Regions from separate parts of the Homo sapiens genome. Here all the other regions are linked to region 5. The links are contacts of gene promoters, found by promoter capture Hi-C in human tissues and cell types (Jung and others, 2019). All regions are on one chromosome and are shown on one strand. The core of a region is centred on a gene start or on the middle of the fragment in contact, and the rest is flanking DNA. Distances in the headings are between cores, read along the strand shown.

The links. Contacts are between HindIII fragments. The study calls those that stand out against the background at their distance.
Region 1: a contact is called between a fragment that was not itself captured here and the fragment with the promoter of CHST11 in region 5, in 1 of the 25 tissues and cell types used here (aorta).
Region 2: a contact is called between a fragment that was not itself captured here and the fragment with the promoter of CHST11 in region 5, in 1 of the 25 tissues and cell types used here (IMR-90 fibroblasts).
Region 3: a fragment that was not itself captured here is called in contact with the fragment with the promoter of CHST11 in region 5 in 1 of the 25 tissues and cell types used here (bladder).
Region 4: a fragment that was not itself captured here is called in contact with the fragment with the promoter of CHST11 in region 5 in 1 of the 25 tissues and cell types used here (lymphoblastoid cells).

What each region holds. Positions count from the first base shown.
Region 1 is chr12:105,363,053-105,365,765 of GRCh38, forward strand. The region is part of intron 2 of C12orf75 (chromosome 12 open reading frame 75); the gene reads left to right. Among named protein-coding and RNA genes, the nearest start is that of C12orf75, 34 kb to the left of the region's middle. The HindIII fragment of the contact is 8,128 bases long and covers 1-2,713 here.
Region 2 is chr12:105,115,101-105,117,816 of GRCh38, forward strand. WASHC4 (WASH complex subunit 4) reads left to right here. Exons shown (of 33, transcript NM_015275.3): 5 at 84-129; 6 at 561-628. Among named protein-coding and RNA genes, the nearest start is that of WASHC4, 8.7 kb to the left of the region's middle. The HindIII fragment of the contact is 4,793 bases long and covers 1-2,716 here.
Region 3 is chr12:105,035,945-105,038,644 of GRCh38, forward strand. It overlaps ALDH1L2 (aldehyde dehydrogenase 1 family member L2), which reads right to left. Exons shown (of 23, transcript NM_001034173.4): 18 at 2,159-2,258. Among named protein-coding and RNA genes, the nearest start is that of ALDH1L2, 47 kb to the right of the region's middle. RefSeq lists a silencer at 1,167-1,246. The HindIII fragment of the contact is 5,954 bases long and covers 1-2,700 here.
Region 4 is chr12:105,056,767-105,059,650 of GRCh38, forward strand. ALDH1L2 (aldehyde dehydrogenase 1 family member L2) reads right to left here. Exons shown (of 23, transcript NM_001034173.4): 10 at 1,307-1,454. Among named protein-coding and RNA genes, the nearest start is that of ALDH1L2, 26 kb to the right of the region's middle. The HindIII fragment of the contact is 4,090 bases long and covers 1-2,884 here.
Region 5 is chr12:104,455,567-104,458,492 of GRCh38, forward strand. CHST11 (carbohydrate sulfotransferase 11) reads left to right here and starts at 1,382. Exons shown (of 3, transcript NM_018413.6): 1 at 1,382-1,963. The coding sequence starts at 1,846. RefSeq lists enhancers at 1,051-1,100, 1,121-1,200, 2,121-2,170 and silencers at 1,271-1,400, 1,481-1,650, 1,691-1,970, 2,561-2,700, 2,861-2,920. The HindIII fragment of the contact is 13,105 bases long and covers 1-2,093 here.

The DNA.
Region 1 (2,713 bases), core at 196-2,695, 910 kb after region 5:
CTTTTACATCTTTCTACCTGAGAAGCAGAGTGGTGAATGAGAATGGAGCATGGCTTTGGTGCCAGATGGATGGGGTATGGATGTTGGTCATGCTTGTTAGTCTTGTATGTTTATGAATTACATGGCTTTCTGCACCTGGTTCCTCAGGCCTAGGCCCTCAGAGCTGTTGTGAGGAATAGCATGGATGCACGTGCAGTGTCCTGCACTGTGCCTGACACACAGGAGAGACTCATGAATGACACCATTATACCCACGGAGTCCTGGTCTCTAGTCCTAGTGTTGTAGAATAACTGTTTGTGGAAGGAATGGATGAAGTGACAGTCTTATACATGGGAGTGAGTATGCAAAGACAGGCTTTACAACTTACTGGAAGGTTTAAAAGAGTGGATATCTGGCCGGGCGGGGTGGCTCAGCCTGTAATCCCAGCACTTTGGGAGGCCGAGGTGGGAGGATCACGAGGTCAGGAGATCAAGACCATCCTGGCCAACATGTTGAAACCTCGTCTCTACTAAAAATACAAAAATTAGCTGAGCATGGTGGCACGGGCCTGGAATCCCAGCTACTCGGGAGGCTGAGGCAGGAGAATCACTTGAACCAGGGAGTCAGAGGTTGCAGGGAGCCGAGATTGTGCCACTGCACTCCAGGCTGGTGACAGAGCAAGACTCTGTCTTAATTAAAAAAAAAAAAAAGAGTGGACATCTTATAAGTCTTTATAGGTAGTATTTTTTTTAAGATTTGGCATTATATCTGAAGCTTAATTTATTATCCAATAAATATGGCAACTACATTATCATTTCCTGCCAGTTATACATGTAAGGTTGTTGATTAATTTTATAATGGAGAACACAGATTGAGTTTTAAGATATTGAGTAATTTAACAGGAGAAAGTAAATGACTATTTTCTTACATTTGGGAAAGTGAAAATATATTTTAAAACCTTGAATATATCCTTAAGCACAGTTAAGCAAAAGGGGAAAGAATTAAAATAAACGGATATGTAAATGGATGTGAAAAGAATAGTCATGGCCGGAAATGTGTGTCATAAGCTACCAGTTATATACAGATTCAAGTGATTTCTTGAGAAAGTTAATCACTCAGGACCAAAGTAAACAGTTCTTATCAGAACTTACCTTGAACGAGTTTGTCCTCATCATTTCTCCATTATCTATGCTAAAGGATTATAAATCCATTTTAATTAAAAGTAGTGAACAACTCTCTCTTATACCACATCAATAAGCATAACACCATTAGTATGACTTTGACACTTGAACTAAAAAAACAATCCAGCGTTAAGAGGTAAATGAAGCTGATAACCATCTAGTGAATTTAGGTTATATGCTCAGTTTGGATGAATTAGGTCTCAAGATGGATTTTGCACTCTCTTCCAGTATTAGCTGTTCATGGCCAGCGTTCACCAGATAATTATTAAATCTACACTTTCCTTCTTTATAGACTTGGACTTACTGGCTGTTGCAATAAAGCAAAAATCTCATGCACATATACAGTCACATTTGAAATATTCACAGCTTTTAAGTGGGTAAAATCATAGTTAGACAATCTCTGAATCAGAAGAGTCAATGACATTTAGATGTTTGCAGTCTGCTTTTTGCTCAACTGAAGCCCCTTAGTGTTACAAGTTGAATTCAGCCAGATACATTGGAATCTTGTTGAATTATTTTTTTTTTCTTTCAGAAAAGCAACTTATGTATGCCAACTAGTGCTTCAAGGAAAGTGTCCTGATTCTCTTAGAAATACGCCAAGGAATTCTGGTAGAATATGGACTCCTTTTTTTTTTTTTTTTTTTTTTGAGACCAAGTATCCCTCTGTTGCCCAAGCTGGAGTGTAATGGCGTGATCTCTGCTCACTGCAACCTCCACCTCCCGGGTTCAAGGATTCCTGTGCCTCAGCCTCTTGAGTAGCTGGGACTACAGGCGTCACCATGCCTGGCTAATTTTTGTATTTTTAGTAGAGATGGGGTTTCAGCATGTTGGCCAAGCTGGTCTCGAACTCCTGACCTCAGGTGATCCGCCCGCCTCGGCCTCCCAAAGTGCTGGTATTACAGGCATGAGCCACCATGTCCAGCTTGGATTCCTCTTAATGCAAGGAGAGAAGCTGTGCATTTTAAAGTAGTGATCCCCTCTAAATGTATCCTTTTAAATATTTCTCCCTCTCTTTGCAGTAGATCATGTATGAAATGGCTCATGTTTTTAGATAAAAAAAAATCAAATAGGCATTAACTCTTTTTGCACTGAAGAAGTCTTTCAGTACCTATAGTTGTGCCACTGAAGTGTCATAAGAGATCTAAAACCATGTATTAGGACTGGAAGAGACCTGAGGGGTCATCTGGTCAACCAGCTTATTTTACAAATGAGACACAGGCTGGCAGCTCGCCCACAGCCTGTCTGTCACACAGGGAGTGGGTGGTACACACAAGACGATAACTCAGGCTTCTTTCCAATTTCAGCTGCCCTCAGTTTTCCATTTCATTTGGCAGTTGTGCATTTTGGCATTTGCTGGATTCACACATTTTGGTTTGTAGAAAATTACCAAGTTTTAACGTATGAATGATTGAGGTGAAGGCAGAATATTGTCACAGAAACACTTGATGGATAGTTTTGCTCCTCTACTTAAGTCTGATGGAAACATTTGAAATAAAATTGACTTCAACTCAGTAGTCCCTTTTTCTCATAACCAAAAATGAAGTCCCCGACTA
Region 2 (2,716 bases), core at 86-2,585, 660 kb after region 5:
CTAAGTATACAGATCTAAGAGAGCATAGGAATTTGGAAACAAAACAACCTTTAAAATTATTTTAATTTTTTTCTTAAAAACAGGCTGAAACTAAATTTTACAATGGTCTCTTGTTTTATGGAGAAGGAGGTAAGTTTAAAATTCCAAATTGTGATGCCTTTTTGATATTGAAATGAACAAAAAGTTAACAGACAATTTTAGGACTACTATGATTATATAATAGTGTGAGAAAAATAAGTATTCATATTTTTTGTTGGTATGTTTGGTAAACAGGTAAAAAAGCTGAGGAAGCAGCAGCAAATTTGTGATATCTTTGTACTTTACGAAGTACTGTAGGTAGATGAGAATTTTCCTTGAATTCATTAAATAGTGAAGCAAATACTTCTAATTATTTGATTAATGATTGTCTGATTTTTCTCTTTGGTGTAAAAATTCTGTTTTCAATACTATGCAGAGTAAAAGATGTCCTAATGAAAAAAAAAAACTTTTCCCCCTTTTTTGGTATTGATTGAGTTTAAATTTAAAAAATGAAATATGCTTATTCATGTTGCCTTTTACAGCTACAGATGCCAGCATGGTGGAAGGTGATTGCCAAATTCAAATGGGGAGATTTATTTCATTCTTACAGGTAACTGATTTTTACTTTCTACTGAGCTTTTACTTCAAAAAGTTTGAGTAAATTACACAACACGTAAAAAGTTCTGAAACCTTCAAATACTAAAGATGTGTACTCTGAGGATAAGACACTTAATTAGCATTGGATTATAGTTTAGGAGATCATAACTCCTAAAAGATTTCCAAGTATTTTTAGAGGAAAAAGCTATCAAAATAAGTTTCTTTGTGTATATTTCTTTATGGACAACTTGTCACCATGCCTTTTAAAATAATTTAAACTTTGTACCCACTGGAAAAGATAAATTGTATCAGGAAAAGTTGTTAACGGATAGGAGAGAATTAAGCTATTACATGAGCAATGATGAAGTTGTTTAAAGCGGTAGCCCTCCATGCTTCTAACAGCTTGTTTCAGTTTAGATAGCTTCTCATCACTGCCAGTTTTAATGATTGTAGGTCCTTTGGTTTACTCTTATCAAAAGAATAAAATGGCTTCTATTTCCTCCTCTGTGATAAAAATAGTGCATGTACGATGTGAAAAAGCAAAAATTGAAGCTAAGGAAAAAATACCCATAGTCCCACCTCCTTTCTGTTGTTGAGTACAAGATTTGATATATTTCATCAAATTAGGCATGCTAACATACTGTTCAAATCTTTTATATCTTTACTACTTTTTTTGGTCTAATTGATCTAATTGAGAGCATTTTGTTCATATTGTGATATGTGTTATTCAGGGTCCTGTCTAGAAAACTCCATACAAGGTATTTCAAAAGATGTAGTTTGGAGGATACAAAGTAGCAGATATGTAAGATGAGTAAGTCTAGAGATCTGATGTACAACATGAAGATTACAGGTAATAAAATACCGTATATGGCATTCATGCTGAGTAGATTTTAGCTGCTTTTGCTACAAAAAAATGGGTTAGCTATGTGAGATGATGGATTTGCACTTGACTATAGTAACCTTTTTATTATCGGTATGTATCCCATAACATGTTGTATACCTTAAATATACACAATAAAATGTATTTAAATAAGAAGAGAGGGGATTCAATATAGAGAATTGGTTACCCAGGAGTTGGAGGACAAAGAAAATACTGAGGTGTAGTCCAAAGGAAACAGATACCTCCTTTACATCCAGAGAACAAAAAGGATAAAGATTGGGATTGCCAGGATCTGGGAGCTTGGAGAAGAAGCCCCATGAAACTGATGCCTATGCTGAGGTGGCACTGCCTATCTGCTGCTGGCTTCTTTTCCAGCAAGGTGTCTAAAAAATGTAGTTGGTAAGGTCCCAGTAAATGTGGAAACTTTGCATTTTTCATTTTGAGGGTATTTTATTCAGTGTGTACAAGTTTAGAATTGTTAATCATTCCTGGTAAATTGAATCTTTTATCATCATTTGTGACCTTCCTTAGCTATGATCATGATTATGTGTATATGATTATGTATATGTATTTTACATGCATAGCAATTTACTGTACTGATGCTAATCAAGTCTGTTTTGTCTGACAGTATAATAATAATGCTGCCCTGGCTCCGTTTTAGTTAACATTTTCTTGATTTATCTTTTTCCATTCTGGCAGCCTTTCAGTGTCATGTTTTAGTTGGGTTTATTTAAAACCACATATATCTAAATTTTGCTTTTTTAATGTAGTCTGACAATACCTGTTTTTTAATCGCTTAATTTATTCTGTTTCTAGGTCTATCTTATATAGTCTGTATGTATATCTGGGCTTGTTTCTGCCTTTTTACTTTGTTCTTTCTGTTTGTCCTACATTTTCTCTGCTTTTTTTAAACTTCTAGAAGTTTAATAGGACATGTAAAACTATAACTATTTAAAAATAAAATGCGTTATTTATTTTCATTTTAAAAAATACTTTACATCATATTTAGATCTCACAGCTGCATAAAAATTCCGTTTTTAAACATTCAACAAATATGTTTTGTAAGCCTAGTATATGCTAGAAACTGTTATTGGTGCTGGTGATATAGCAATGCACAACACCAACAGAAATTCCTGTTCTCATAGAGCTTAAAATTTAGATCAGCATAGTTTTAATTAGGTTTTAAATACTTCAGATACACACTGTTTCTATAGGTTTAAA
Region 3 (2,700 bases), core at 42-2,541, 580 kb after region 5:
TATTATATATATACGTATATTTATATGTGTATATATATTATATATATACGTATATTTATATATGTGTATATATATTATATATATACGTATATTTATATATGTGTATATATATTATATATATACGTATATTTATATATGTGTATATATTATATATACGTATATTTATATATGTGTATATATATTATATATATACGTATATTTATATATGTGTATATAATATATACACGTATATTTATATATGTGTATATAATATATACACGTATATTTATATATGTGTATATAATATATACACGTATATTTATATATGTGTATATAATATATACACGTATATTTATATATGTGTATATATTATATATATACGTATATTTATATATGTGTATATATATTATATATACGTATATTTATATATGTGTATATATATTATATATATACGTATATTTATATATGTGTATATATATTATATATATACGTATATTTATATATGTGTATATATTATATATATCCATATATATGTGTGTGTGTATATACACACACATATATACGTATATTTATATATGTATATATATATTTTATATATATATATATATATATATATATATATATATATATATATATATATATAAAATGGATGTGGCTGGGTGCAGTGGCTCACACCTGTTATTCCACCCATTTAGGAGGCCAAGGCAGGAGGATCACTTTAGCCCAGGAGTTTAAGACCTGCCTGGGCAACATAGTGAGATCCCATCTCGAAAACAAAGTATAATGAATGCTTTGAAATACCATGCTTTTCCTGTGCATACATTTTATCTTTAAACATTACAAAAATATGTTGACTGTCTTGGGTTTGGGGTTCTTAAATGGTTAAAACAGACTCTTTAAGGTTATATATTCCTAACCCAGACATCCAGGGGAGTCCTGACCCCTGATATCAGTTTGAGTACCCCCAGCCATTGTCTGTCACTGAAACCTCCAGATGGTCCATTCAAAGGCCCTGGCCGCAGGGGTACTTGGTTCTTCTTCACTCCCAGACCACTCCATTCTCTTTGGGATGCTTACATGATGAAGTTTGGCTGTGAGTGTTCATTATAATTACATTTAGGGCCAATGGTGAACAGAGTCTGCTTAGTGCATAGGCTGGACAGTTGTACAGAACTGAGAAGACCATAAGTTTCCCCCACAATTACAAGAAAGCTTAGCACAACCCCTGCCGAGCATTGACTCATTTTATGCCTATATCTCAGATGTGAAGAATGAGAACTAGGCCAATTTTTTTTAACCTTTACATTTTATTTAAAATAAGCCTTTATACTTTGAAATAGTTTAAGGCTCACAAGGTGTTGCAAAAATAATGTGAGAGTTCCTTTGTGCCCTTTACCTAACTTCCCCCATGATAACATCTTATAAAACCATAGTACATTGTTAAAACCAGGAAATTGATGTTGCTAATTACTTGTTAAATATGAAACCCTTTGTTGTGTCTAAAACGCTTACCAGAAGCTCAATGTGCAAAACAGGTAAAAGTAGGACTGTTCAGGTTGATGGGATGAGATGTTGTAGGGAAAGGAGGGAGAAGCTAGAAGCCCTAATAGAATATCTTTTGAACTTTTTTACATGCCTGCTATGACTCATATCCTGTTTTAAAAACACCTTAGTAGAGGAATTATAAAGACATTATTTTTAAAAACTAAGTGCTCTGAGTATTCCCAAATCTAAGCATAAAAACAATGGTTTTAATTTATGACTAGACAAAACCCAAATCTCATTTAAGATCTCTGATAAAAAAGGAGGTGAAATGTGTTTTAGAAGCAAGCACCTATTTTTTTTTCTTTTTTTTTTTTGAGACGGAGTCTCACTCTGTCGCCCAGGCTGGAGTGCAGTGGCGTGATCTCAGCTCACTGCAACCTCCGCCTCCTGGGTTCAAGAGATTCTCCTGCCTCAGCCTCCCGGGTAGCTGGGACTACAGGTGCCCACCACCACGCACGGCTAATGTTTTTGCATTTTTACTAGAGACGGGGTTTCACCATGTTGGTCAGGCTCGTCTTGAACTCCTGATCTCAAGTGATCCACCCGTCTTGGCCTCCCAAAGTGCTAGGATTACAGGCGTGAGCCACCTCACCTGGCCCAGGCACCTATTTACTTAAATTTGACCCTCTCTTACCATTCGCACAGCCTTGTCAAGTTCACAGTCATTAAATATTATAAGTGGAGACTTGCCACCAAGCTCAAGGGAAACTTTCTTCAAGTTGCTAACAGCACAGCTAGAGGAAAACAAATGAGAAATGAGCATTTAGTTAACATCTCTCTCTCTCTCTCTCTCACACACACACACACACAAACACACACACACACACACACACACACACACACACACACACACACTTTTTAAGCTATAAGTTACCACCTGGCATGGAAAACATATTGAGCCTCAGTAATATTAAGAAACTTATTCAAGGCCAGGCACAGTGACTCACAACTGTCTGGGAGACCAAGGTAGAAGGGATCCTTTAAGGCCGGAAGTGTGAGACCAGCCTGAGCAACATGGCAAGACCTCATCTCTATAAAAAATAAGAAAATTAGGTAGGTATGGTGGTGTGTGACTGTAGTGTCAGCTACTTGGGAGGCTGAGGCAGGAGGATCGTTTGAGCCCAGGAATTCAAAGCTGCAGTGAGCTGTGATCACCACTGCACTCCAGCCTGGGTG
Region 4 (2,884 bases), core at 184-2,683, 600 kb after region 5:
TAAAAATACAGTTAAATTAAAAATAAGGGATTAAAAAGGCATACTAGACATATTTAACATAAAAGAAAGCAGTGAGGGAGAAATTGAGGAATAAAAAGGTGTCAGACAAGACACAAGAAAGCACAAGTGGCAAAAGAACATAGATAAATTAGACTTCATCAAAATTAAAACCTGTTGTGTGTCAAAGGACACTCAAAGTTTTCAGCAAATCTACAGAATGAGAGAAAATATTTGCAAATCTTACATCTGATAAGGATCTAGTATCGAAAATATACGAAGGACGCTTAAGACTCAGCAATAAAAAGACAAGCCAGTTTTAAAATGAGCTAAGGATTTGAAAGAACAGACATTTCTCCAAAGAAGAAATACAAATGCCCAATAAGTATATGAGAAGATGCTCAACATCAGTAGTCATTAGGGAATACAAATGAAAACCACAATGAGATCCCACTTTACACCCACTAGGACAACTAAAAGAGAAAAGACAGATGAGAGCAAATATTGGCGAGGATATGGAGAAGTTGAAACCCTCATACATTGGTGGGATTACATAATGGTGTAGCCACTTCGGAAAACAGTTTGGCAGTTACTCAAAAAAGTTAAACATAGAGTTACCATATGACTCATCAATTCCACTCTTAGGTACATACCCAAGAGACTTGAAAACATATGTTCATGCAAAAACTTATATATGAATTTTCATAGCATTATTCATAATAGCCAAAAGGTAGAAACAACCCAAATGTACATCAACTGATGAATGGGTAAACAAACTGTGGTATACTTATACAATAGAATATTACTTGGCCAAAAAAAGGGATGAAATGATGATACAACATGGATGAACGTTGGACACATTATGCTAAGAGAAAGAAGCCAGAAACAAAAAGCCACATGTTGTATGATTCTATTTATATGAAATCTCTAAAATAGGCAAATCCATAGACAGAAAAGAGGTTAGCATTTTCTAGGAACTATCATGCTATCCAATTTTGGAACATTTTTTGTATGAGGTAGTCCTGGAAGAGTAAAGAATGACTGCCAATGGGTACAGGGCTTCTTTTTGGGATGATGAAAATGTTCCAAAATTGGATGGCATAATAATTGCACAACCCTGTGAATATATTAAAAACTACCCAAAATGCACATTTTAAAGGGGAATTTTATGCCATCTGAATTAGATCTCAGTAAAGCTGTTGTTTTTTAAAGGTCATAAATATAAAAACAAATGGGCAACAGGCACAGCAGTCTTTTATAGTGTATGGATCTCACTGATTTAGGGTTGCAACATCAAGGAAAAGCTTACATAATCTACAACCAGCTCCACCTCTTGATCTTCTCCTCTCAGTTTCCTCACGACCTTTTGGATAAAGCCTTCAAACTTGGTGGCCATATAGACATCTTCATTCTGCAACTGAAGCCCACCACATTTCTGTCTGATCTCTTCAACCAGCCTTAAAGTAAAAACCAGCTTCGCGTTACTTAGATTTTTAAAAGGGGTTAGGAAGATTGTGTTATTTGCACTTGTCAAGTTGTTTTGAGGTAAGACTTACATCACATGCCTATTTATATCCTATGAGATCTTCTGTGATACTCATCAGAGAAATTGATAAGACTAGGGGCAAGAAATTAAAAATATATCTTGAAGGACAGTGGCAGTTTTTTAAAACTTTATCCATGACTAAAAATAAAAGCAATCAAGGCAAAAATATTTTAATTACTTATAAGCAAGGTAGCAAGGATCATATAAAGTCAACTCCTTTCCTTTCATATATACTCAGGGAATAAGAAACAAAGACACTTTCCTAACTGTAAAGATTATGAGAGATGAATGTCATATTGTAGACTATTTTCTCTAAATTACAAGTATAAGATGGACATTTGTTTGTATTACGTAGTTAACATAGGTACTAGCTAGAACCATATGCAGTAGGTCAGTATAACTTTTGAAGTCCTTTCCAATCCTTTGATTTCCACTGTTAGTTTGTCAAATTACAGCTGTTATCTGACATTTCTTGAATAGCAGTGGTGTACGAGGTACAGTGTAGAAAGTCCACCATGGTTGTGGTTCAATCATTTATTCTCTAAAAGAGATGATACCTTTGTAATCAAGATAATAATATCAGATGATTATGGTAAGCCAGACACTCAAACAGAAAATGAGTAATTCCTGCAGGAGTATCTTGCTAGCAAAAAAAAAAGTATTAATAATACAGTACTGGCCGGGTGCGGTGGCTCACACCTGTAATCCCAACACTTTGGGAGGCCGAGGCGGGTGGATCACGAGGTCAGGAGATCGAGACCACCCTGGCCAACATGGTGAAACCCCGTCTCTCCTAAAAATACAAAAATTAGCTGGGCGTGGTGGCATTTGCTTATAATCCCAGCTACTTGGGAAGCTGAGGCAGGAGAATCGCTTGAACCTGGGAGACGGAGGTTGCAGTGAGCCAAGATTGCGCCACTGCACTCCAGCCTGGCGACAGAGCGAGACTCTGTCTCAAAATAATAATAATAATAATAATAATAATAATAATAATAATAATAATAATAATACAGTACTGTGTGTGATGTACCAGGTGTGATGACTCATGCCTGTAATCCCAACTAGTAGGGAGGATGAGATGAAAGGATGGCTATCCCAGGAGTGCAAGGCTGCTAGTGCAAGTGAGCTGTGATCACACCACTGCACTCCAGCCTAGGCGACAGAGTGAGGCCCTATCTGTAATAATAATCATCATAATGTAGTATTGAAATATTTAGTTAAGCCAATTAGAAGTTTCTGGGAACTCATGAATCACAGCTGAGAAATCTATAATTTGAGGAGCCGAAACTCTTGACTTTTGAAAACACTATGTGCTCTTGAAATGATTGTTTTTGATTTCTG
Region 5 (2,926 bases), core at 132-2,631:
AATCACTGGAGAACGACTCTGTCTGAAGCTTGTTCAGCCTGGCTTCCTTGAGCAAGCAACTTATTCACAGGTAAGTCCAAATTAATACAGCGCACACCGGCTACATAAATATTGTGCTTTGATTGTCTTCTGTAATCAAAGGCAAGGCTGCTGAGTTTGTTACTTTCCCCACCATGCAACTGCTGGAGGAGAACTCTGGGGGAAGGGAACTGAGGTTGCCCAGGTGGTTTTTGTTGCATGTGTCTAACTGCAAGTTGTGTCTCTGTCTATCGAGGGGAGGATAAGGCCCATTACATTCAGATTCAATAAGAATTTATCAAATGCCTATTTTGTGAGAGGCATTGAAAGACACAGTATCTTATTTCATTTTTAATTGAATTAGTAATGACTTGATAAGGCACAAAGGTTAGTCTAACTAACATTTTTTTTTTCCCTGACATACGAGTGATCCCTACACTATTGGCTGTGTCCACTTTATTGATTGTGAAACAGCCTAAATGCATGGAATTGGAAACTGGAAGTCATTCTACACAATACAAGAAAGCAGCACCATCTTTCCATGTACCTGCCAGTGCTATGGCTGGCTTGGCTTTTCCAGCAGTTTTCTGGACTTGGTTGAGGTGGCTTCCTAGGGGCATTTTCTCACCCCCTCCCAGCTAAGACTGCTGTTAATTTTGAATAATTTGGAGGATGCTCTACCCTTTGGGGTAGCAGAGTTTTGCAACCCACAGATCCCTTTTGCCTTGAGGAATGGTGGTGATGGTGGGTGTCAGAGATTCTGTCTGTATAAGTCCCCGGGAAAGCTCAGCTGTCGCCTGACCCGAGGGTCGTGCAGTTTCCTTAACCCTGACTTTAAGTCAGCCCTCTTTAACCCCGACTCCCAAGCTGGGCTGTCCTTTGAAAGAAAAACGAAACCGCCCAGTTCTGAGCGTCGGAAAATGGGCACTCGCTCCCTGGGGGTTTGGGGCAACTTCCCCGCTACGTCGCCCAGGGATTTTAAATAATTGCCAGCCACCAGAAACCCCCTAACCCTTAATTCTTCCCTCCGAGACCCAGCCCGCTGCTTGCCACTTCCCTCTCCAAACGCTGGCGGGGGTGGGTGGCAGCACCGAGGCGATTTTCTTCGTCTTTTTTTCCTCCGGGTTTTGTCATGGAAACGCTGACACAACCTCCAGACGGCGGCCGAGCCCGGCCGGGGACTGAGGGCTTTTGGGACCCTGCGGGAGCGCGGCGCGCACACCGCACTCCCCGGGCAACAGCTGGACGCGACCATATCCCGGGTAGGGGCGGGGGGAGCGCGACGCTCCGCCCCGGCGCTAGGGTCCCTCCCTCCTCCCGGCTCTCCGCAGGCGCCCTCCCCTCGCCGGGGGCCGCGAGTTGCATTTGGTAAAACCCAGCCCCGGAATATATAGATCGTTGGAGCGCAATGAAGTAGCCTTTGGAGAGAAGGGAGAGGGCCCGTCGGACAGCCACAGCGGCCAGCGCAGCGGCAGCGGCGGCGGCACCACCATCACCGCTCGCACCCCAGCCGCCCGGCCCGCGACCAGGCAGCGGCGGCCGCCGGCGGGATCGGAGGAGGCGGCGGAGCGGCGAGGAGGAGGAGCAGGAGCGCGCAGCCAGCGGGTCCACGCATCTCAGCACTTCCAGACCAACTCCGGCACCTTCCACACCCCTGCCCGGGCTGGGGGCTCCGAGAGCGGCCGCGAAGCGACTCCGATCCTCCCTCTGAGCCTTGCTCAGCTCTGCCCCGCGCCTCCCGGGCTCCGGTCCGCGCGGCGGGGTCCCTGCTCCTGCGCCCCGGGCGCGCTTCCCGGACACCCCGGTCCCCGCAGCCAGGACAAAGCCATGAAGCCAGCGCTGCTGGAAGTGATGAGGATGAACAGAATCTGCCGGATGGTGCTGGCCACTTGCTTGGGATCCTTTATCCTGGTCATCTTCTATTTCCAAAGTATGTTGCACCCAGGTAGGGGGCGCGTTAGCGTGGTTTTGTTGGATATTTTCTTCTCTCTCGCGCTCTAGCTCGCTCCGCCTGATTTCTGCCTCTTCCAACCCTACCTCTCCGCCTTCGGCCTCTTCGGGGCTCCTGGCTGCCCAGAGCTCCTGGCTGCCCAGATCTACCCGGGTCACCGCGTCGGGATGGGGAGGAGAAGGGAAGGTGTGCTTCGCCCTCTTCTTCCTACCGGCTCCGGGCTGGAGGATGGGACCAGGAGGGGCGGTAGTTTTTTTTTTTTTTTTTTTCTTCTTCTTTTTTTCTTTGTGTCCCTTGTCTGTCTGTCTGCGAGGTAGCAGGGAAACGGAGAGGTGTGGGAAGCAACCGGGGGTGAGGGGCTGGTTTGAGGAGAACGAAACTCCCTCCCTGCTGCTGCCGAGGTCGGAGGATGAAAGAGTTACCCGGAGCCGGCTGCTCTGCGCCCGGGCGAGCCGCCTCTTCCTGGTTGCCGGGCCGGGGGCGAAGGGTGTACGCCCCGGCGAGGTTGCGAGTCCCTGCAGCAGGCTGGGAGCCCGGGACTGGGCTCCCACGTGTCCCGGGCTCCGCGCAGAGCTGAGCAGGTGTGGAGAGTGGTCGGGTGCCCAGCGTTGCCCCTCCACCACGCGCCGGCCGTTTGCCCCCGGGGTCCGGCTCCGCAGTGACCTTGCGGCTGGTGCCCCGGGGCCTGCTCCAGCCCCCAGCCCTGAGCTGGAAACTCCGAGCTCCTGGGTCACGCCTTGACCACTGCAGTTTTGGAGGAAACTTTGGCCAGGTCCTGGGCTGACCGTCCGTTTGCATCCCCCACTTCTGGGATCCGAGCAACGGGAATCCCCCGGGCGGCGTGGGAATGAACCCCATTCCTCCGGTCCCTTGTGGCTCAGGCAAAGTTCCACGTCCGAAATCTGGACTGGGGGAGGGACGAGGCTCGTCGCTTCCTAGGGGTGCGAGGGAAAGTTT